Regions from separate parts of the Homo sapiens genome. Here all the other regions are linked to region 6. The links are contacts of gene promoters, found by promoter capture Hi-C in blood cells and fetal thymus (Javierre and others, 2016). All regions are on one chromosome and are shown on one strand. The core of a region is centred on a gene start or on the middle of the fragment in contact, and the rest is flanking DNA. Distances in the headings are between cores, read along the strand shown. Region 1 overlaps MRPS11 (mitochondrial ribosomal protein S11). Region 2 overlaps RLBP1 (retinaldehyde binding protein 1). Region 3 overlaps DET1 (DET1 partner of COP1 E3 ubiquitin ligase). Region 4 has its middle 12 kb from the start of MRPL46. Region 5 overlaps FANCI (FA complementation group I). Region 6 holds the start of HAPLN3 (hyaluronan and proteoglycan link protein 3). Region 7 overlaps FANCI (FA complementation group I).

The links. The method cuts DNA at HindIII sites, captures the fragments that hold promoters and counts their contacts. A CHiCAGO score of 5 or more calls a contact.
Region 1: a fragment that was not itself captured here is called in contact with the fragment with the promoter of HAPLN3 in region 6 in 3 of 17 cell types (naive CD8 T cells, total CD4 T cells and non-activated CD4 T cells); the score reaches 9.2 in naive CD8 T cells.
Region 2: a contact is called between a fragment that was not itself captured here and the fragment with the promoter of HAPLN3 in region 6, in 1 of 17 cell types (naive CD8 T cells). The highest score is 5.6, in naive CD8 T cells.
Region 3: a contact is called between a fragment that was not itself captured here and the fragment with the promoter of HAPLN3 in region 6, in 1 of 17 cell types (naive CD8 T cells). The highest score is 7.4, in naive CD8 T cells.
Region 4: a contact is called between a fragment that was not itself captured here and the fragment with the promoter of HAPLN3 in region 6, in 2 of 17 cell types (total B cells and naive B cells). The highest score is 6.3, in total B cells.
Region 5: a contact is called between a fragment that was not itself captured here and the fragment with the promoter of HAPLN3 in region 6, in 2 of 17 cell types (naive CD4 T cells and naive CD8 T cells). The highest score is 5.8, in naive CD4 T cells.
Region 7: a contact is called between a fragment that was not itself captured here and the fragment with the promoter of HAPLN3 in region 6, in 1 of 17 cell types (naive CD8 T cells). The highest score is 5.0, in naive CD8 T cells.

What each region holds. Positions count from the first base shown.
Region 1 is chr15:88,473,689-88,476,668 of GRCh38, forward strand. It overlaps MRPS11 (mitochondrial ribosomal protein S11), which reads left to right. Exons shown (of 6, transcript NM_022839.5): 4 at 1,422-1,551. Among named protein-coding and RNA genes, the nearest start is that of MRPS11, 7.5 kb to the left of the region's middle. The HindIII fragment of the contact is 6,293 bases long and covers 1-2,980 here.
Region 2 is chr15:89,210,493-89,213,743 of GRCh38, forward strand. It overlaps RLBP1 (retinaldehyde binding protein 1), which reads right to left. Exons shown (of 9, transcript NM_000326.5): 7 at 1,251-1,409; 8 at 207-317. Among named protein-coding and RNA genes, the nearest start is that of RLBP1, 9.5 kb to the right of the region's middle. The HindIII fragment of the contact is 3,749 bases long and covers 1-3,251 here.
Region 3 is chr15:88,531,291-88,534,372 of GRCh38, forward strand. DET1 (DET1 partner of COP1 E3 ubiquitin ligase) reads right to left here. Exons shown (of 5, transcript NM_001144074.3): 2 at 1-425. The coding sequence starts at 415. Among named protein-coding and RNA genes, the nearest start is that of DET1, 14 kb to the right of the region's middle. The HindIII fragment of the contact is 636 bases long and covers 933-1,568 here.
Region 4 is chr15:88,453,400-88,456,649 of GRCh38, forward strand. No RefSeq gene overlaps it. Among named protein-coding and RNA genes, the nearest start is that of MRPL46, 12 kb to the right of the region's middle. The HindIII fragment of the contact is 236 bases long and covers 1,363-1,598 here.
Region 5 is chr15:89,245,544-89,248,772 of GRCh38, forward strand. It overlaps FANCI (FA complementation group I), which reads left to right. Exons shown (of 38, transcript NM_001113378.2): 2 at 2,086-2,188. The coding sequence starts at 2,105. Among named protein-coding and RNA genes, the nearest start is that of FANCI, 3.2 kb to the left of the region's middle. The HindIII fragment of the contact is 644 bases long and covers 1,125-1,768 here.
Region 6 is chr15:88,894,001-88,897,099 of GRCh38, forward strand. HAPLN3 (hyaluronan and proteoglycan link protein 3) reads right to left here and starts at 1,544. Exons shown (of 5, transcript NM_178232.4): 1 at 1,459-1,544. RefSeq lists an enhancer at 770-1,381. The HindIII fragment of the contact is 19,838 bases long and covers 1-3,099 here.
Region 7 is chr15:89,286,292-89,289,138 of GRCh38, forward strand. The region is part of intron 18 of FANCI (FA complementation group I); the gene reads left to right. Among named protein-coding and RNA genes, the nearest start is that of MIR6766, 39 kb to the right of the region's middle. The HindIII fragment of the contact is 6,511 bases long and covers 1-2,847 here.

The DNA of each region.
Region 1 (2,980 bases), core at 85-2,584, 420 kb before region 6:
GCCAGGATAACAAGTGGATGGCCCAAGCCCGGGGCTGACTCCAGCAGGCCTCCCCTTCAGTCACTTCTCCTGCCTCCTTCTGTGAGCTCTCAGAGCTCTCCAGACCAGAAATAGGATGATGATGACTAAAGGGGAAATCAAAGCATATCTGAGGATTTCTTAAGGCATTCTTAATTGTATTAATAAGTAACTTATTAGAGATGATTAAGAAAAAGTTGTGGGTGGATGCAGTGGCTCACACCTATAATCCCAGCACTTTGGGAGGATCACTTGAGGCCAGGAATTTAAGACCAGCCTGGGCAACATAGTGAGACCCAGTCTCTAAAGAAATACAAAAATTAGCCAGGCGTGGTGGCATGCACCTGTAGTCCCAGCTACTTGGGAGGCTGAGGTGGGAGGATGGCTTGAGCCCAGGAGTTGGAGGCTGCAGTGAGCTATGATTGTGCCACTGCACTTCCAGCCTGGGCAACAGAGTGAGACCCTGTCTCACAAAAAAATAAAAAAGAAAAAAAGAGAAAAGTTTTACTTGTTTAAAATAATTTTTGATCATGGAATATAGTGTCATAAGCATCAAAAGTATCCAATATGAGGCCGGGCGAGGTGGCTCATGCCTGTAATCCCAACACTTTGGGAGGCCAAGGCGGGCAGATCACCTGAGGTCGGGAGTTCAAGACCGGCCTGCCCAACATGGAGAAACCCCGTCTTTACTAAAAATACAAAATTAGCCAGGCATGGTGGTGCACGCCTGTAATCCCAGCTACTCTGAAGGCTGAGGCAGAAGAATCACTTGAACCCGGGAGGCGGAGGTTACTGTGAGCCAAGATCGTGCCATTGCACTCCAGCCTGGGCAACAAGAGCAAAACTCCATCTCAAAAAAAAAAAAGTAGCCAATATGGTAATATTGCTAATATTTTTTTAAGAGTCCTTCTTTTAGAGCTATGTACTGAAATATTTACAGACAAAATGATAGGTCTGGGATTTGCTTCAAAATAATCCATTGGTGAGGGGAGTGGGGTGGGAACAAGGTTTATAGATGAAACTGAATTGGATATGAGTTGATAATTGTTGAAGCTGGTTGATGAGTCCATCAGATTTCTTATGTTATTCTCTTCACTTTTGTGTATATTTAAAACTTTCCCCAATACAGTCATTTTCTGGGTGATACTTAACTAACTACTCTCAGATTATGGAGCGCTCTTTAAATTATGTGACTTACCAGTTTTCAGTCAGGTTTAGGGGAGAATTCTGACCTTTCCTGATACTTCCTGTAGGAGTTCAAAACATGTTCATCTGAGAAGCTCAAAGTAGAAGCAACTGAATTCCTTTTTCTTTCTCACCCAGGCTTCTAGGGGCATAGATTAGCTCTCTCTTATTTCCCTGAAGAAGAGTTGTATCCTATGTGCTTCTTCTACTTTTCTCAGCACACAGATCCAGGTAGTCTCTGCTAGTAATGAGCCCCTTGCCTTTGCTTCCTGTGGCACAGAGGGATTTCGGAATGCCAAGAAGGGCACAGGCATCGCAGCACAGACAGCAGGCATAGCCGCAGCGGCGGTAAGTGTGTGTTCCTTCTGCTTCCTTCTAGTGTGTGTTTGCTTTCTGCATGGCTCATCACTGAGTGGAGAATCCTCATTATACTACCCATTCAGAAGCAAGGGTTTGTCATGGCAGCTTTGATGCCCTGATTGGAGCATTGGTTTGAAAAGGTTTAGTGAAAGGCTCCTCTTTTTTCTTTCTCTCAGCTTCATTAGAGGTGAAGCCCTTGTTGGTTCATTCTAGGATGTAAGAGCCAAGATACCAAAGGCTTGAGAACCAAAGACCCCTCAATTTAAAAACCGTTAGCCAGGTCTGGTGGCACCTGCCTGTAGTTCCAGCTACTTGGGAGGCTGAGGCTGGATGGCTTGAGCCCAAGAGTTTGAGGCTGCAGTGAACTATGATCTCACCACTGCACTAAAGCCTGGGCAACAGAGAGAGACCCTGTCTCCAAAATAAATTAAAAATAGGCCAGGCGCGATGGCTCACAGTTGTAATCCCAGCACTTTGGGAGGCCAAGGCAGGCGTAAGAGATCGAGACCATCCTGGCCAACATGGTGAAACCCCATCTCTACTAAAAATAGAAAAATTAGCTGGGCGTGGTGGTGCGCGCCTGTAGTCCCAGGTACTCGGGAGGCTGAGGCAGGAGAATCACTTGAACCCAGGAGGTGGAGGTTGCAGTGACTCGAGATCACACCACTGCACTCCAGCCTGGTGACAGAGCGAGACTCCATCTCAAGAAAAAAAATAAAAATAAAGACCAGTGGTTTGGGGTTGGGAGAGATATGATAGTCTATTTGGAGAGGACATAGTATCGTGGGGACTCATGCAATAGCAATACCAGTTCCAGTGTGAACTGTCGTAGACCTTTTTTAGAAGCAAATTGGCAAGGTGCTGCTATTGGTATAGTTATTGAGCATCTACATGTGCCAGACACTTTACATTCATTATCTTGAATCTTCAGAGACCCTCAGTATTATCCACATTTTCATAAGCCAATTGAGATTCAGAGTGTGTGACTTGCCCAGAGCCATGCACCGATTCAGTTCACTGATCGGAACCCAGATTGGTCTGGGACCAAAGCCTGCACAATTTCTACTATAGTACAGGCCTTACAAATGTTCAGACTCTGCCAAACCAGATGTATTTCCTGAAGGAAAACCTTGACCTTCAAACAAGGGAAGGCACCCCAAAATATTGATTGCATGTACTATCATCAGAAATCAAAATGCTGTAAATGCCCAACCATGGACAGATCATATACTATGAAAAGAAGTATGTCACTGTTCACAGTGGCTTCTGCATGGTGAGTCATGAATGATTTCTGTATATTTTCCCATTTTTATAATGAACTGCCTTTATTATCAAGAAAGTAAATTTTAACTCTAACTGCTTAGAGATTTTAAATGATAATACTTTTAAAGTGGGTATTTAGGTTCAGCCTTGAAGC
Region 2 (3,251 bases), core at 179-2,678, 320 kb after region 6:
GATGAGGGTTGAGGGAGGAAAGGGGCAGGAGGACAAAGCCCCATCATGTGCAGTCTTTGCCTGGCGACACCTCTCTCCGCAGGTCTCCATGTTGGGTGTCAGTGGGATCCACATAGCTCAGGACCATGGTAGAGTGTGAGGAGGGCTCAGGTGAGGCCCCACCCTCAGCCCTCTTGTCTCATTGTCTGGGCGGCCCACGTACTCACCCTCTCAAGCAGCTTGCTCTTCAAGAAGGGCTTGACCACATTGTAGGTCGTGGTGAAGTACCATGGCTGGTGGATGAAGTGGATGGCTTTGAACCGGGCTGGGAAGGAATCCTGCGGTGACAGAGAGATACCCCGTTCCCCATGGCCCCAGTGACCTCAGAGGCTCCCACTCATTCCCTGCTGCCTCTCCTCATGGCATAGAACAGACTTGTCCAGCATCACAGGGCTGCCCTGGAGAAGGGCCCACTGAAGGTCCTATTTCCAGGCCAGCAACTAGGGATCCCTGGCTCACTGTGGCCCAGACTGCACGGAGGAAGCCCCAAGATTCATAAGACCCAACCCTCTCCCTGCTGATGCAAATTAAACTGGGAATTAGGAAAAGAAATGAAAGTAGCCTTGCTTGACCTTTTGGTGAGTTTTTTCAAACCCACTTGCCTGCCGAAGGGACTGCAAACTATTACAAACGACAGGAACAGTATTATCATCCCTCATTGTCCATCAGCCCCTCCCACAACCTCCACCTCCCACCCCTCCTTTCCCAATACACAGAGCAGATCTAAGATGGCTCTAAGAAAGGACTCCTGACATGTCAGCACATATAGGAGTGAGTTATCAGAGGGTTAGTGATAATCCCTTTCTCGGGGTGAATCCACATTCAAAGAGAGGCAGTGCGACATATGTGGACAGACAACATGGGATTCCAGGTCAGAAGATGCAGGTTCAAGTCTGGCCTCTGCCGCTTTATTGCTGTGTGACCTCGAGATGTCTCTTAAATCTCTGAGCCTTCGTTTCCAGGTTTGAAAAATGAAGCAGGGAAGGAGGGAGAGAATGCTCTCAAGGAGTCGATGGAAGAATGAAAGGGAATACTTGGCAAACTGTCAATCACTATGCAGGTGCTTATGGTTGGGACTGTGGCTGTCACTGCTCTTTATGGCGCGAGGTGGTCCAACTTCTCAGTTCCCTGCAAGCACCATGAAAGGAGGCCCAGCCTCTCAGCCTCCCCAGCTGTGGGAGGCTGCCGTGCGACAGAACTCTAAGCCTCACCTGGAGCATGTCCACCATCTTCCTGAGATCTGAAGTCCGGAGACTAGCAGCCTGCTGCATGGTAAAGCCCTTGAAGTTCTCAATGATGCAGAAGCCATTGATTTGAGTTTCCTCATTCTCCAGCAGCTTCTCCAGGATGAAGCAATATGCCTGCAAGATCTTGGGCACAGAGAGAACAGGCTGTAAGATCTAACCCGCAACAATAATTAAGGCTTGAGGTCCTGAGGGGAGAGCTAATTGGTACATTCTTCACTGGGGTAATTTGCTGCAGGCTTTGATCTCGGACATTCCACTTCTGTGAATGTATACCAAGAAAACAAGTTCAAATGTCACATCCATGCTTAGAGGCCAGAAGGTTTATCCCAGTACTCTTGCAATAGTGGGAACATTGGAGACAACCTAAATGTCCAACAATGGGAACTGGTGAAATTATGGTACATTTATGCCATGGAATACTCTGGAACAATTAAAAACAATACAGAAGACTAATAATACAGGAAAATGTGCATGATATATTATTGTAGAATATAATCCCATTATTGTAAGAAAAATGTGTGGGCTGGGTGCGGTGGCTCACGCCTATAATCCCAGCACTTTGGGAGGCCGAGGCAGGTGGATCACCTGAGGTCAAGAATTCAAGACCAGCCTGGCCAACATGGTGAAACCCCATCTCAACTAAAAATACAAAAAAATCAGCTGAGCATGGTGGCAGGCACCTGTAATCCCAGCTACTTTGGGAGGCTGAGGCAGGAGAATCACTTGAACTTGAGAGGCAGAGGTTGCAGTGAGCCGAGATCACGCCACTGCTCTCCAACCTAGGCGACAAGAGCAAAACTGTGTCTCAAAAAAAAAAAAAAAAAGAAAAATGTGTGTGTGTGTGCGCGTGTGTGTGTGTGTGTATGTGCGTGCATACATGTATGAAAAGATTGGAAGGATGTCAATAGTAGAGCTCTCTAGGTAGTAGAATTGCAAATGATTTTAAATTTGTCTGTAATTTTTTTTTTGAGATGGAGTCTTGCTCTGTCACCCAGGCTGGAGTGCAGTGGTGCGATCTTGGCTCACTGCAACCTCTGCCTCACAGGTTCAAGCGATTCCCCTGCCTCAGTCTCCCAAGTAGCTGGGATTACAGGTGCCTGCCACCATGCCTGGCTAATTTTTGTATTTTTAGTAGAGACAGACAGGGTTTCACCATGTTGGCCAGGCTGGACTCGAACTCCTGACTTCAGGCAATCCACCCACCTTGGCCTCCCAAAGTGCTGGGATTACAGGCATGAGCCACTGCGCCCAGCCAATTTTTTGTATTTTCTAAAATGAGTAGATATCACTTACGTAATAAGAAAAAACATATATTTAAGTCTCTTCCTTAATACACACAGATAGGCAGGTGTGCATTTCAGTCCTACAGCCAGTGTCTTATTTGATGGGAAAACCCTAGAGGCATCCTTACTAAGATCAGGAATTAGATAAAGACTTCACCATCTCTGCCACCATTTAATTCTATATTGAAAGTACTAACCAATGCAATCAATTTGTTAAAAAAAAAAAAATCAGGGGCATAAGAAGTGGAAAGGGAGAAGAAAAACTATCTCCTCTACTTACAGATAGTATTATAGTATACTTAGAAAACCCCAGAGAATCCATTATAAAACTAACATAAATTTTAAAAGAGTTCAGTAAAATAGGGGGATATACAATTAAAAAACAAAAACAATAACCTTCATTTATACAAACAATAACCAACTAGAAGATATAATGGAAGAAAGAGCCCCATTTTTAGCAATGACAACAAAATTAATACCTAAGACAAATTTAATGAAAAATGTGCACAACGTTGTGAGGAAAAAATTTTTAAAACCTTTTTATTTTTCAGAAGCAGAGTCTCTCTCTGTCCCCCCAGATGAAGTGCAGTAGCACAGTCATAGCTTATGAAGAAATCTTTAAAACACTCCTGAAAACTCAAAAGTAGGCTTGAAGAAAACAGAAGGCATCTCACATTTGTGG
Region 3 (3,082 bases), core at 1-2,500, 360 kb before region 6:
GCTCACCATTGGCCGCAACATTGGTAATGTGCAGCAGGACAAAAAAGCGTTCAAAGAGCCGGCCCCGGATATTCACTGACCGCTGGTCATTGCCATTGGACAGGATTTCTCCTTCGTATCCCTGCAGTAGGTCCTCTGCTGCCTGGCAGCCCTGGTACTCATAGATTTCAAGAGATGTCTGGTCTGAAGAAAAAGCAATAAAGTAGCGTCCATCAGGTGAGAATTTACGCAAGAAACAAGGAGGCTTTTCAACGTTGACAACTGTGAAGTTGGGGAAGACATTCTGATGGAACACTCGGACTTGGTGCCAGTGGGTACCTGCCTTGCCTGAACTGATCCGCCGGCGTTCCAAGCGGTGAATGACATTTTGGTTTTGGATTCTTCGAGGCTTGATGGTAGAAACATGATGATCCATTATCACATCTCTAAACAGAAAAGTAAAGCAGAAGTCAAGAAAGTGAAACAGAATTTACCAAAATATAAATATATACAAGTGAAACAGATTTCTCTTCTTATATCCTGAACCTAGGAGCTCCCAAGATGACAGTGACTGGCATTACTACTTCCCAGATTATACTGAGTAAGTGGTCCTAACATTTCTAAGTCTAGAAACAGGTCTAAGGGAAGGATCTAGTTCACTAGGAATACCTTCCAAGTATGCTCAGCTGTTGGGAAAGTTCAACAGAAAAAAACCTACAACTACAAATTTGAACAGTATAAGACACATTCGGCTGGGCGCAGTGGCTCACACCTGTAATCCCAACACTTTGGGAGGCCGAAGCAAGTGGATCACCTGAGCTCACTAGTTCAAGCCCAGCCTGGAAAACATGGCAAAACCCTGTCTCTACAAAAAAATATAAAAATTAGCTAGGCATGGTGGCACATGACTGTAGTTCCAGCTACTTGAGAGGCTGAAGTGGAAGGATTGTTTAAGCTTGGATCATCGAAGCTGCAATAAGCCGTGGTCACAACACTGCACTCCAGCCTGGGCAACAGAGTGAGACTCTATCTCAAACAAACAAACAAAAAAATCATATTCAATGTGCATTCATTCCAGCAAAAAATATTTATTGGGCTGTTAAGATATCCATATTACCCAAAATAATCTACAGATTCAATACAAACCCTATCAAAATCCTAATAGCACTTTTCACAAAGATAAAAAATTCATCCTAAAATTCATATGGTATCTCAAGGGCCTCCAAATACACAAAATAATTTTGAAAAAGAACAAAGAGGATTCAAGCCTCTTGATTTCAAAATATATTACAAACCACAGTAATCAAAAAATTGTGGTACTGGATAAAGACAGACACAGACCAATGAAATGGCCCACAGATAAACTCTGGCATATATGGTTAAACAATCTTTGATAAGGTCCTACTACTACTCAATAGAAAAAGGACAGTCACTTCAACAAATGGTGTTGGGAAAACTGAATAGCCACATGCAAAAGAATGAAGTCAGACCCTATCTTACACCCTATACAAAAATTAACCCAAAATAGGAAAAGAATCTAAATATAAGACCCATAACTATAAAACTACTAGAAGAAAATACAGGAGGAAAGCTTCATGACATCAGATCTGGCAGTGATTTCTTGGATAAGACACAAAAGGCATAGGCGACCAAGACAAAAATAGACAAATGGGAATACATCAAACTTAAAACTTCTGTGATCAAAGGACACAATCAACCGAGTGAAAGGGCTTTCTACAGAATGGAAGAAAATATTTGCAAATCATATATTGGATAAAGGGTTAATATCTAGAACATATAAAGAACTCCTATAACTCAATAACAAAAAATCATATACCCAATTTTAAAATGGTCAAAGTACTGGAACAGACATTTCTCCTATACAAATGGCCACAAAGCATATGAAAAGATAGATGCTCAACATCACTAATCATCAGAGAAATGTAAATCAAAACTACAATGGGATATCACCTCACACCCATTAGAACGACTGCTTTTTTTAAAAAAAGAAAATGACAAGTTTCATTGAGGACATAGAGGAAGTTGAACCCTTGTGCATTGTTGGTGGAACTGAAAAATAGTACAGCTACTAAGGAAAACAGTATGAAGGTTCCTTGAAGAAAATTAGAACTACCATAAGATCCAACAATTCTACTTCTGGGTATAAATCCAAAATAACTGAAAGCAGGATTTCTAAGAGATATTTGCACACCCATGTTCATATCAGCGCTATTCATAGTAGTCAAGAGATGGAAGCAACCCAAAAGTTCACTGATGGATGAGTGGATAAACAAAATATGGTATATACACACAAAGGAATATTACTCGGCCTTCAAAAGGAAGAAAATTCTGACATATGCTACATCACTGAAACTTGAGGACATTATGTGAAGTCAAATAAGCCAATCACAAACAGACAAATACTGTATGATTCCACTTAAATGAAGTATCAAACGTAATCAAATTTAACAGCCAGGTGCCATAGCACACACCTGTAATCCCAGCTACTTGGGAGGCTGAGGTGGACCACTTGAGCCCAGGAGTTTGAGTCTAGCTTGGGCAACAGAGCAAGACCCAATCTCTAAAAAAAAAAAAAAAAAAAAAAAATTAATGTAAAATACTTATCATTAAAAAAAGAAAAAGGAATCAAATTCACAGAAACAAAGAAGAATGGTGGTCACCAGGGACTAGCAGGAGGGGAAAGAGAAGGTGCTGTTGAATGGGTTAGACTTTTCAGATTTTCAAGATGAAAAACTTCTCGAGATCAATTTCACAATGTGAATATACTTAATACTACTGAACTGTACACTTACAATCAGTTAAGACGGTAAATGTTAGGCTATTTTAAAATCACAATAAAAATATGTTTTAATATTTATGGGGCATCTATTATATGGCAAAGTCTTCTAATTGTTTTATTATACCTTGATTCAAATCAAAGTTAAATCACAGGCCATAAAAGTCAACGGCATTTAGTGAAAAACTTAAGTTATAAAGCTGTTGCCAGATAAGATGGAATAATCAAACACCACCTTCTCTCTCCCACTAAAAATGCAGCTATAAAACCTAGACAGAATGCATAAGACAGGCATATGAGAAAAAC
Region 4 (3,250 bases), core at 231-2,730, 440 kb before region 6:
AGTATTTTATACATCATGGCCCCGAAACACAAGCCAACTGGTTAATCTTGTGCTCCTCCAAATAAATCATGATTGGTTCCACCTCTAGAAGAAACACTGGCCATGTTAGATTCCCGGAGAGACCTGGCCAGTCACCAATGTGTTACCTTTCTAAAGGATATTTCCATGGTAACTTTAGTCATAGATTATTTGTGACCTATACAGTGACTTTAGAATCCAGCCCTCAGGTTAGATGTGATTCTGCACAAGGCATCATGGAACTCATTCTCTTGCCTTCAGACAAAACTACTCTTAAGCTGTCTTGGACAGTTAAGAACCTAAAACACTGTAAAATAATTCCCATATGCACTGCCCTCCAGCCCCACAGAGCTTCTTCCAGGCCTCTCTGGGCTTTGTGCACGTGATTCCTACTCTCTTCTATTCCCTGGCTCTCTCCCCTCTATTCTGAGGCCTGCTCTGAGGCCCTCACAGGGTTGGTGCACAGCACAGCTCCCTTTGGCTTGTTGACAGGCAGGGTTCCCCCACCACCCTCAGCACTAAACTGAGGATGTTGGCCAAGAGTATTTTGGTCTCCATTTTATTCCCAGTGCTTGGCTGTAAAGCAACCTCCTCCACAAATATTTGTTGAAGGGTTAACTGGGATGTTTCAAGAATTCTCTTTATTTGAGGTTTTTCCTTGTCATCAAGATTTACCGTCTTGTAGAAAATGTGGTGAGGTGATTGACAAACTGAAAAAGACTAATCTATTGGACTACTCAGAACTGACCTTATTTTTAATGGCATTTGTTCTTGTTTTATTTTTAATACTCATGGAGATTCTTACCCACTGTTACCAATTAGCTTTCCCAAATTGTGCTTTAACTGTTGATTTTTGTACTAAGAAGTAGCATCTTCAAATAAAAACTCACTTTAATATTTAATAATCCTAAATGTCAAGGAACTCTTCCCATGTGTAACTTCTCAAAATTCCTACTGTTGCATTTTAACGCTTGCTTACTTCCTCTAATTCAGACCAAGATGACTAATGGACATCCTCTGTGTAAGTAATATACACACTCAAAAACCATGACTCTCACCATTCCCTTCTCCAAGTTCAAATAATTCCAATCCCTTCAGCCTCACTGTTCTCCATGTCAATCCTCTTCATATTCTCACAAATCACCCCAGTTCAGGCTTTCCAAGGGGTCCATGAGCCTGCAGTAGATTGCTCCTCCATGACCAGTTCAGGAATTCCATGATACAAAGGCAGGGGTCCAGGCAGCATGGGACAATGGATGGCTTTAGAATCACATAGCTCTGGGTTCAAATCCTGGCTCTACCAAGCATTGACTGAGACCTTCACAGGGTCTCCTCCCCTCTCCAAGCTTGTCTATGGATCTAAAAATGCCACACAAGACCAACGTAATTCTTAGGTGAGTCAGATTATGTTGTGGACATGCAGGCCTAGCACAAGGCTACATGAAGTGGTCCTAACACATGGCAGTCTGGGTGCCCTCCCCTCCCAAGGGCATGGCGTCCATCTGTGACACTCCCTGGAGCTGATGCATGGGGGTGGATGGCCATGAGTGCCCCACATCTGTCCTGGTTGGCTGCCAGCAAGCTTCTGGCTGCTGCTTAACCCCAGGAGACTGGGTGCTGGGGACTCTGCTCAGCCTGAGATACGAAGCTTCTCCAAGGGCAGCAGCCTAAGGCCAGGCAGGTTTCCAGAAGGTTTCCAGGTTTCGTGAAGGTTTCCAGAGACAGCCTACTTCTGGAAGAGCAGATGCCAGGCAAACCCTGCCACCTTGTGGTGCTCATGCGTATGAGCCCGCTCCAGCTGTCATAAAGCCCCGCCTTCCACTCTGGGCTGCCATCTGGTTTCTCGGTCTGGGGATATCCTCTCTCTCCTTTTCTCAGCCTGATCTACCCCAAGGCTTTCTGACCTGGAGGTGTGTCCCAATCCCCTTAGGCCCAGGGTGTTCTCAACTTTGTCTATTAGCCCTGTCATTCCCAAAAGCCCTAGCCTCAGTGCCCTCATCTGACTACATTAGGACAGTTTTCCCCTACTGGGCCAAAGGAGAACCTGGGAGTCTCTCTCCCCCACCCACCTTAGCCACTCAGCAGCTACTTGGGGCCTGGTATCTGACACTTGGGCAATCAATGCTCTGTTTGTACTGCCAAAGCCTCTGAATAAAACCTGGGGCCGGCTTCTCAGGCCCACTTCAGAGTGGCTTAGTAGGGTAGCTGGGATGTATGCGTGCACATGTGCACCTATGTCTTGCTCTAGGCTAGTAAGACCCTCCCTGGCAGTGCCTATCTCCTGACTTGCAGGGGACCTTCCAGCCCCAGCCCCTCAGCTACAGCAGTGATTCAGCTATCTGGACCTATTCCTGAGCCTTTAACAGCACCTATTCTGACCACAGAGAGAACACTTTCCTCCTTCGCTTCCTGTTTTAAGCACCAAAATGCCAAGACAGGTGAAAGGCGACTGATAGCCTAAAGTAACTGGCCATAATCCAGGCTCGATGTGCTTCTAGAAAATAAAGCGGAGAAGGGTAGGGGCTGAGGCTACCCTGAGATTTCAGGCAAACAGGCTTTATCTTGCTATGTGTGTTTGAAGCTTAGCGATCTGTGAGCTTTCAATAATTGGGTTGCTGACCTTTCAGCGGCACTCCTTTTCCCCTGTTGGGGTAATAGAACGGGTCAGCAAATCCTTTCTGTTTTTAGTGCCCATAAGCCTGTGCCTAACAGTGGCTCTGGATTTCCTGGCCCAGGGTGGGACAGAGCTAACATGCCCAACCAGCTGGATGAGGCTGGCTATGGGACTTACCTGCCATACATCCATTGTGTGTGGCATTAATGGATGGAAACCATTAATGTCCAAGTTACTCACATCCCTTTCCAAATAGGTCAGAAATGCTTGGTTGCCACAATGTATAACTTAGAAAAGGTGAGAATGGGAGTTGTAAAAGCTAAAGATGTTACAGCTAAATGAAGGAGCAGAATTCAGGAGCCTAAGTATGTTGGAAGGAGGGAAACATTTGCTGAGTGTTTATAACAAGCCACACATGGTGCTAAGTACTCTCGCATAACTTACCACATTACCTGAGAAGAAGTATCATCTTCATTTTATAGATGAGAAAGGTAAAGTTAAGAAAAGTTAAGAACTACCTTTGTATACAGGTCTAGGTTCGAATTCTGGCCCCACTTCTTACTAGGAAGTAACTCTAAGTAAGCTAACTAACTTGAGTTTATTTCTCATGTATAAAAT
Region 5 (3,229 bases), core at 197-2,696, 350 kb after region 6:
TTTGTAGGAATTAGTAATAAAAGATTGGGGGGCAGTGGATGGAAGCAGGAATATTTATTTAAGTTCCAGATGGAAACATGTGGAAGGGCCTGTGGCAGAAAGAACTTGGAGATTTGAAGGACTGGAAGCAATTCTGCATGGCTGGAGCAGAGTGATGAAAGGGAGGTAGGCATGGGTCAGAACTTGCAGGACTTATTTTATCCTTACTTAAGGGTTTTGGACTGATAAAGCAATGGAAGCCACTGAAGAGCTTTAAGATGAGGATGGCATGGAGGGAAGATAAGTCACATAATCAGGTTTGTGTTTCAAAAACATCACTTTAGTTGCTGCGTAGAAGGGAACAAGTTAGGAAACGATTGCAGTAGTTCAGGTGAGAGATGGTGGTGGCTTGGGGTAATGTGTCAGTAGTGGAGATGGAGAAAAGTAGACAGATTTGGGAGATATTTAGTAGGTAACATTGACAGGACTTGGTAATGGATGTGGTGAAGGATGAAGGCAAAGTTGTTAAGAATGTTACCTAGGTTTCTGGTCTGAGCAGCTGAGTGGATGATGGTACCATTTATGGAGACGGGAAACACAGGAGGAAGAAGAGGAGGAACAGATTTTCTTTCTACTAGGCTGTACTTCCCCCTTCTATTTTCATAGCTACTCACTGAATTCTATCTGCTTCATGTGCCTCCATTTCATCCCATCTTTTCTGTTCTCCAGTCACCACCCTAGTACAGGTCTTTATCATTTCCACTAAAATAACTTCCAAATGGTCTCTTAGCATTTGCTGTTTCTTCTTACCTTCTCCCCACTTTAATCTGCACAAAGATGCTAGGTTCTGTTTCCTCAAACACTTGCAATCTTGTGAGATTGTCTTTTGCTCAAATTTTTTAATGGTTCTCAGTAATTTACGAAATAGAATCTAAATTCCTTAACCTGTTTACTTCCAGCCTATCTTTCCAGACTTCCTACTCACTATTTTCCTACTTGGATTCTACCTCAGCCATTTTACTCATTTTCCCCCAAAGAAATTTCTCATTTCCCGTATGAATGCCTTTGTTCATGATACCCTTCTCCATAATGTATACAACCTGGTTGTCTGGACTACCTATATTTAATCTCTAAGTTCCAGTTCAAGCTTTCCTCTGCTGCGAAACCTTGACATTTAAGAACACAGTTACATCTTTTACCTTGTTAACTTCTCAGCTTTTCTTTCTTTCTTTCTTCCTTTCTTTTTTTTTTTTTTTTTTTTGAGACAGAGCCTCGCTCTGTCGCCCAGGCTGGAGTGCAGTGGCGTGATCTCCGCTCACTGCAAGCTCCTCCTCCCGGGTTCACGCCATTCTCCTGCCTCAGCCTCCCGAGTAGCTGGGACTATAGGCGCCCGCCACCACGCCCAGCTAATTTTTTTTTGTATTTTTGGTAGAGACGGGGGTTTCACCGTGTTAGCCAAAATGGTCTCGATCTCCTGACTTCGTGATCTGCCCTCCTCAGCCTCCCAAAGTGCTGGGATTACAGGCATGAGCCACGGTGCCGGCCTCTTTTTTTTTTTTTTTTTAAGAGACAGGGTCTTACCTTGTTGCCTAGGCTGGAGTACTGTGGCATGATCATAGCTCACTGCAGCCTCACACTCTTGGGCTCCCCTTCTCACTTGTTTTTATACCATTTAATTGGCACATAGCATTTATAGTGCTATTGGTTTATTCATTTATTTGTCAAATACTTTATTACATGCTTATGGTAATATATAATGTATTACATACTTGATATGCTGTTAAATGGAAGCTTTGTTCTAGGTAGTATGGTGAGTAGATGGTAACAAGTGTGGGCAAAAATTATGAAACCACTTGATTAGAATACAGATTCCTAATAAGGCAATTCCAGGGAATTTTCAGGATTATTTTGGTTAGGTTAAGAATCATCTTGCCACTGAGCTTAAGAAGAAGAAGAAAAAAGAATCAGCTACTTAAAGATAGTCCTAAGTTTGTTGAGCACCCATTGCATAATAGGTATGAAATATTCAGTTAACAGGGAAGGAAAACAAATCAAGTTTGTTTATTTCTGGAATCTTCACCCACCTCTGACGTTTTTCCCTTGTAGTTCTGTGATATGAGCAACAATGGACCAGAAGATTTTATCTCTAGCAGCAGAAAAAACAGCAGACAAACTGCAAGAATTTCTTCAAACCCTGAGAGAAGGTGATGTGAGTATTAGGAAGCATGTTCTGCTAAAAGTAAATGTCAGGCATGATGACACATTCAAAGGACATGTGAGAAAGAAAAATTACGCTGCTTCTTCATCTACTCCCCATTCACTGTAGGAGACAAGGATTTATTTAATAATAATTTATAGATGTAAAGAAATTGGGGTGAGGGAATGAGAGAAATAGACTACTTGAGGGCATTTGTGACCAAGTTTAAACCTGAAATAGTTTAAGAATAGAATGCTTTTACAACTGTATTTATAAAAGCAATTAGTATACTTTTATGGTCCTCAGAACAATCCTATTTGATGATAATATCCAGACTATAGTTACTGATTGAGACATTAGTTTTGCATTTTGATGCTTCTCTGTATTTTTCCGTAAAGAAATTAAGTTTATAAGCGGCAAAATATTTTGAAATTATTAGTAAAAATTAGGGCCTCTGTTTTCACTATAAGTGTAGGATTATAAAATGGGATAGTAATTGCCTTATATGTTAGGCTGTTTCTTCTCCCTAATGTTCTTTCTCAGCTGATATACTGCTCCTTTTTCCATAAGTGATCTCATCCTATCCAGGTCCCTGCCTGGAAAAGAATCCCTCTTCAAGGTATATGTACAAACAAGTAAAGACATTGAGTATCATGGGATTTTTTTCCTTTTTCTGTCAATTGATGAGTATTATGTTTTTAAGGGAATTTCTTTGTGTTAATGTTGTAGTTATTGAAGGAAGGTGCATCTTAGTGTGTGTTATCTGACATACTAACTAGGAATTGATGCAGTGTTGCTCTTTGATTTTTTTTTCTTTGAAATTATCCAAGATTGCCTTTATAGCTATTTTTTGAGATGACTTGTTGCATGAGTTGTAACTTGAATCATTCTATAGACAAGATTTGATTGAAACTAGCATTTAAATTATTTATTTAAAGTTTCATGCCTCAAATTGAAGGCGTGAACACTGTCAAATTGAAGACAGTGTTCCAGATGTTTTCTGACTCTAGGATAGAGTAATGCTAATATTTCCCTCATTTTTCCATTAATGCA
Region 6 (3,099 bases), core at 294-2,793:
TAAGGGAGAGAATAGCTGCAGAGCACTGAAAATACTGCTTGATGCTTGATAAGGAGCAAGCACTGGGAAAATATGACCTGTTACTACTCTGGTGAGCAGTTCACACAGTGAAGTCTTACACCATCTCAGTGGCTCTTTCTCCTCTCTCACTGCCTACGAGACAAAGTGGTCACCACTGCCTCCTCTTCACAGTTGAGGAAACTGAGGCCAAGAGAGTGGAGGTCAGTGAACTACCCAAGGCGTTATCTTTGTCAAATATCTCGAACTTAGAGAAAGTTCAGGTTTCCTGATGACCAGCCCTTTGCTTTTCCCAGGCGCCCCAGCCTAGGGACCCCTCCACCCAAGAACAATAAGCCTGGGCTTGGAGGGAGGGTAGGTGCCACCTCCCTGCCAGGTGCATGTCCGCACTGGGCCTTCCGTGAGTACAAGTCCCCCAGGTACCAGCAGGAGGCAGCATCGCCCGCGAGGTCTGCACGAGCGCTGCTCCCAGCGAGAAATTTGACATCCCTGTCCCTGTTTGCACAAGGCTTGATCTCCGCCTTTGAAACCTGCAGCCCCCAGGAGAATGAAAACCGGAGGTGTTTCCCAATCCGCTGGCCCGGGCGGCGTCGAGGGAGAGAAGCCAGGGCCCCTCTCAATCGCTGCCCCCTACTCCAGGGAGCACAGGCACTCCCGCGGGTCAGCGCTGGACACCAAGGTCCCAACAGGTTTACAGGCTGCCTGTGGCCTGTGGCTGCCAACGAGCTGGTGGCAGGACTGGGTCCAAGTGCCGTGCTGTTTCCATACTGGCTGCGCACAAGCCTACGTTTCTCCCTGAGGGTCGCCATCTCCCACCCAGGGCTCTGCCCTCCACCCTCCCTACCCTTCTGGCCTCGCTGTCCCTGGGGCAAGAACCCCGGTGAGCGAGGTCTGGAACCCATAGGCATCAGTTGCCTTTGCCCCAGGCGCCCAGAGCCGGCCAGCTGCGGTCCAGAGGCGCAGGTCCGCCAGCCGCCTCGCAGGTTGCCCTCAGCCCCTCCCAGGACTCCCGGGGCCCCCGGAGCATCCAACAGATACCCAGGGGCAGGGCCTGGGGCGCCGCGGACGGCACTGGAGGCAGCCGACCCTGGACAGACGACAGGGGAGAGAGCCAAGCGGACCCTGGCAGGAAGGGGGCTGGAGGCGGACGGTGGTCTCGGAGGCCACGGGGTCCGCTCGGGCTCTGCTCCCTCACGGTGGGCACGAGGGTCCGGCGCCCGCATCCCCGCGCCGCTCCCTCCCCACTTGTGCCCCGGGCGCCCCTCGCCCGCGATCACAGCCCATCTCAGCCCGGGCCTCCGCAGTGCCCGGCCCACGCCTCCTGCCCCTTCCCCGGACCCTGCCCGGGAGGTGTGGGGACCCGCAGGGCACCCAAAGCGGTAAGGGAGGAACCCGGCCCGCACACAGCCCCAGAAGCCCAGCGACCCCTAAGCCACGTACCGTCCCCAGGCAGCTCCTCGACGGCTAGAGCTCTCGGGGGCCGCGAGCTGTCCCGGTCCAAGGCAGCAGTCTGATTTCGGGGAAATTAAAAGGGCAGAAAGGAAGCGGCAGCAGAAAAACCCCCGCGCTCCCGCCAGACCAGCCCCTTAAAGGAACACGCGCACCTTTCCCTCCCAAGGGCTGGGCTCGAAGGGAGGAGCTGCTGCAGGCTTGAGCGGTCTCCAGACTCGCTGGGAACCACCGCAAAGAGGGTGTGCAAGAGTTGAGGCCCTCACGTCTTGGGAAAGGAGAGTAGGGGTGGAATAGGAGAGTTTGGGGAGGGGGGATCCCCTTAGAAAGCCTGGTATACCAAAAACAGTGGGAGTAAGCAGGGGAAGCCCCTGTCCAGCATTCTGCTAGGGGCTAAGGCTGCTCCCCACCTTTGATTGTGGAAGGGGTGAGACTTCTGTATTACTTTCTTTTCCAAATAGAAAGCAAGGGGGTGAGGCCAGGTGCAGTGAGTGGCTCATGCTTGTAACCCCAGCACTTTGGGAGGTGGAGGCCGGTGGATCACCTGAGGTCAGGAGTTCAAGACCAGCCTGGGCAACATGGTGAAACCCTGTCCCTACTAAAAATACAAAATTAGCTGGGCGTGGTGGAGCATGCCTGTAATCCCAGCTACTTGGGAGGCTGAGGCAGGAGAATTGCTTGAACCCAGGAGGCGGAGGTTGCAGTGAGCTGAGATCATGCCATTGTGCTCCAGCCTGGGCAACAAGAGCAAAACTCCGTCTCAAAAAAAAAAAAAAAAAAAAAGCAAGGGGTTGCTGATGTCCTCATGCCCCTGAGTTTGGCCATCATGAAACACTGGCCAGATTCCCAACTCACTGTCAGGCACATAGCAGGTGCTATCCCCAGCACATGGGGCTTGAATGAGTGGCCCTGGCTGGGAGGGGAGACACAGGGTGGGATACCTCTGCAGCCTGCAGGGGCAATCAGGCTTCTGAGTGGTCCTCCAACAGGGGTGGGCCTCCCTTCGGAATCCTGCTAATCAGCACAGCCATCCAGGCAGCCGCTCAGGATGCCTCTGTTTGGACAGGGTGTTTTCTTTCCTGTCCAGACCAATGGGGGCCCTGGCCTGGACAGCCCGATGTTTCCTCAGCAGAAAAGACTAAGGAGGTCCTTCAGCTTTGGCTGGGGGAAGGGTCGAAGGGTCACAGGGTCACAGAGCTCAGAGCCTCTTCCTAAACACAGCTCAAGTTGGCCCATGAGTGTGTGTGTGTGTGTGCATGTGTGTGTGTTACACACAGCCAGGGGCACATTGGAGCACAAAGAACTGTGATCAACAGGTAAACTACACCTAAAAGGAACGCCAGGCTTGATGGGCAAAGGGGAGCCAAGGTAGGTCCCTCTGCAGGTTCCCGACAGGGGAGAGGATGGACAGTAGGGAGAGCACATTTTGCTACAGTTAAGTCGAGTTGAACATGCCAGCCAGGGGTAGGGGTAGCCAGCAGGTGGAATCTGAACGCTCACCCTCTGCCTTGCAGTGGGGCAGAAAAAAGTCAATGTGTAGGGGTGATGGTAAAAGCTGGGCAAATGGAAGACACTGCTGAGGGAGAGAAGCCAAGGAAGGAAGGAGGGGGTCAGGAGTGAGGGGACTCCACT
Region 7 (2,847 bases), core at 113-2,612, 390 kb after region 6:
CTAACTTAGTTTTTATAAAAGCAACTTCTTTTTCTTTTTGCACTGGGTTTTCAACAGTTTACTGAACGTCTGATTAAATCACTAGTTATTATGACAGTACAGCTAAGAGAAATACAACTACTGACTTGTGATTAGCATATAACTCACCCAGAGGATATTGTGGTAGCATATGTGAAAACAACATTCATCTTTCTGTACATTTCCATCAGAGCTCTTAGATGCCTAGGTGCACTATCAATGAGCAGTAATATTTTGAGAAGAATCTTTTTTTTTCTGAGCAGTAGGTCTCAACAGTGGGCTTAAAATATTCAGCAAACCATGCTATAAACAGATGTGTTATCATGCAGGCTTTGCTTTTCCATTTATAAAGCACAGGCAGAGTAGATGTAGCATAATTCTTAAGGGCCCTAGGATTTTTGGAATAGTAAATGAGCATTGATTTCAACTTAAAGTCAGCAGCTACATTAACCCCTAACAAGACAGTCAGCCTGTCCTTTGAAGCCAGGCATTGACTTCTCCTCCCTAGCTAGGCAAGTCCCAGATAAAGTCTTCTTCCAATATAAGGCTATTTCATCTACATTGAAAATCTGTTGTTTAATATAACCACCTCGATCAATTATGTTAGCTATATCTTCTGGATAATTTGCCTCAGCTTCTCCATCAGCATTTGCTGCTTCACCTTGCACTTTTTTTTTTTTTTTTTTTTTGAGTCTCACTCTGTCACAAGGCTGTAGTGCAGTGGCACAATCTCGGCTCACTGCAACCTCCGCCACCCAGGTTCAAGTGATTCTCCTGCCTCAGCCTCCCAAGTAGCTGGGACTATAGGCTCACGCCACCATACCCAGCTAATTTTTGTATTTTTAGTAGAGACTGGGGTTTCACCATGTTGGCCAGGATGGTCTCAATCTCTTGACCTCGTGATCTGCCCGCCTCGGCCTCCTAAAGTGCTGGGATTACAGGCGTGAGCCACTGCGCCCAGCCCCTTGCACTTTTATGTTATGGAGATGGCTTCTTTCCTTAAACCTCATGAACCAACCTCTGCTCGCTTCAGCTTTTCTTTGGCAGCTTCCTCATCTCTTTCAGGCTTTATAGAATTGAAGAGTTTGGTCCTTGCTCTGGATTAGGCTTTGACTTAAGGGAATGTTGTGGCTGGCTTGGTCTTTTACCAGACCACTAAAACTTTCTTCACATCAGCAATAAGGCTGTTTTGCTTTCTAATCATTCATATGTTCACTGGAATAGCACTTTAAATTTCCTTTAAGAGCATTTTCTTTGCATTCACAACTTGGCTCTTTGGTGCAAGAAGCCTAGCTTTTGACTTGCCTCAGCTTGTAACATGCCTTACTAAACTGGATCATTTCTAGCTTTTGATTTAAAGTGAGAGACGTGCGACTCTTCCTTTCACTTGAATACTTATAGGTCATTGTAGGGGTTATTAATTGACCTAATTTCAATATTGTTTTGTCTCAGTGAATAGGGAGGCCTGAGGAGAGGTGGAGAGATGGGATGATGGCCCAGTCAGTGGAACCAGTCAGAACATACACAGCATTTATCAATTAAGTTCACTATCTTATATAGACACAATTCGTGACTCTTCAAACCAATTGCAATAGTAATGTCAAAGATCATTTATCATAGATCCCCATAACACATACAATAATAAAGAGAAAGTTTGAAATATTATGAGAATTACCAAAATGTGACACAGAGACATGCAGTGAGCACATGCTTTTGGAAAAATGGTACTGAGAGACTTGCTTGATGTAGGGTTGCCACAAACCTTTAATTTGTAAACGTAATATCTGCGAAGTGCAATCAAGCAACTTGCAATAAAATTAGGTACGCCCATATTCTGTATAAACCACATTGTTTAAACAGTTAAGGCACAGTGAGCCACTCTTCTTTAGGGTGAGCTTTGTGTCAGTGTAAGTAACTGTTTACCAGCTAAATTCTCAGCCACCAGCTGGCAAAGGTGCACTAAGGATAGGCAGTCTTAGACTTCATGTGTTAACTCTTGTGCAGTCCTTGATATGCCCCTTCCCCCCCAAAAAAAATCTTCACCCTTATTTAGCTCTAAAGTAAAAAAAATTAACATGAAGTGGATCATAGACTTAAACCTATTAGAATATTGCTGTTCATTTATTCATCAGTCTTAGTATATCATTGGTATATAAAAATACCTTATGTAGTGATAAAACTTGTCATATTTGTTGCAAGTGTATGCCAGATTGCCATTTGCTTTTTTTTTAATATGATCCTTTTACACTTAAATAATAATTTTTGGTTACTAAATCTATTGATTTTCTTCCTCTGAGATGTCTTCTATTACTTTTTTTTTTTTTTTAAGAGACAGAGTCTTCCTCTGTTATCCAGGCTGGAGTGCACTAGTGCAGTCTAACTCACTGCAGCCTCCAGCTCCTAGGCTCAAATAATCCTCTTGCCTCAGCCCCATCCCCAAACGATTGGGACCATAGGCACAAGCCACTGCACCCAGCTAATTTTTCTGTTTGTTTTTTTTTTTAACCTTTTGTAGAGACAGGGTCTCACTTTGTTGCCCAGGATGGTCTCAAATGCCCTGGCTTCAAGCGATCCTCCTGCCTCAGTCTTCCAAAGTGCTGGGATTAAAAGCATGAGCTACCGTGCCCGGCCCATCTTTATTATTATTTTATCTGTAGAAAGTCCAAATCCTTCCAATGAATATTCACTAACATTTTCTTTGAGGTTTTTTTTTTTATGCATTTGTTTTTGACGTTTAGCTACTTAATTCATCCTGAATTTGTATGATAATATATATGAGGAGCTTTTCCCCCAAGCTAACCATTTGTTCAGACATCATTGCCTCCTTAA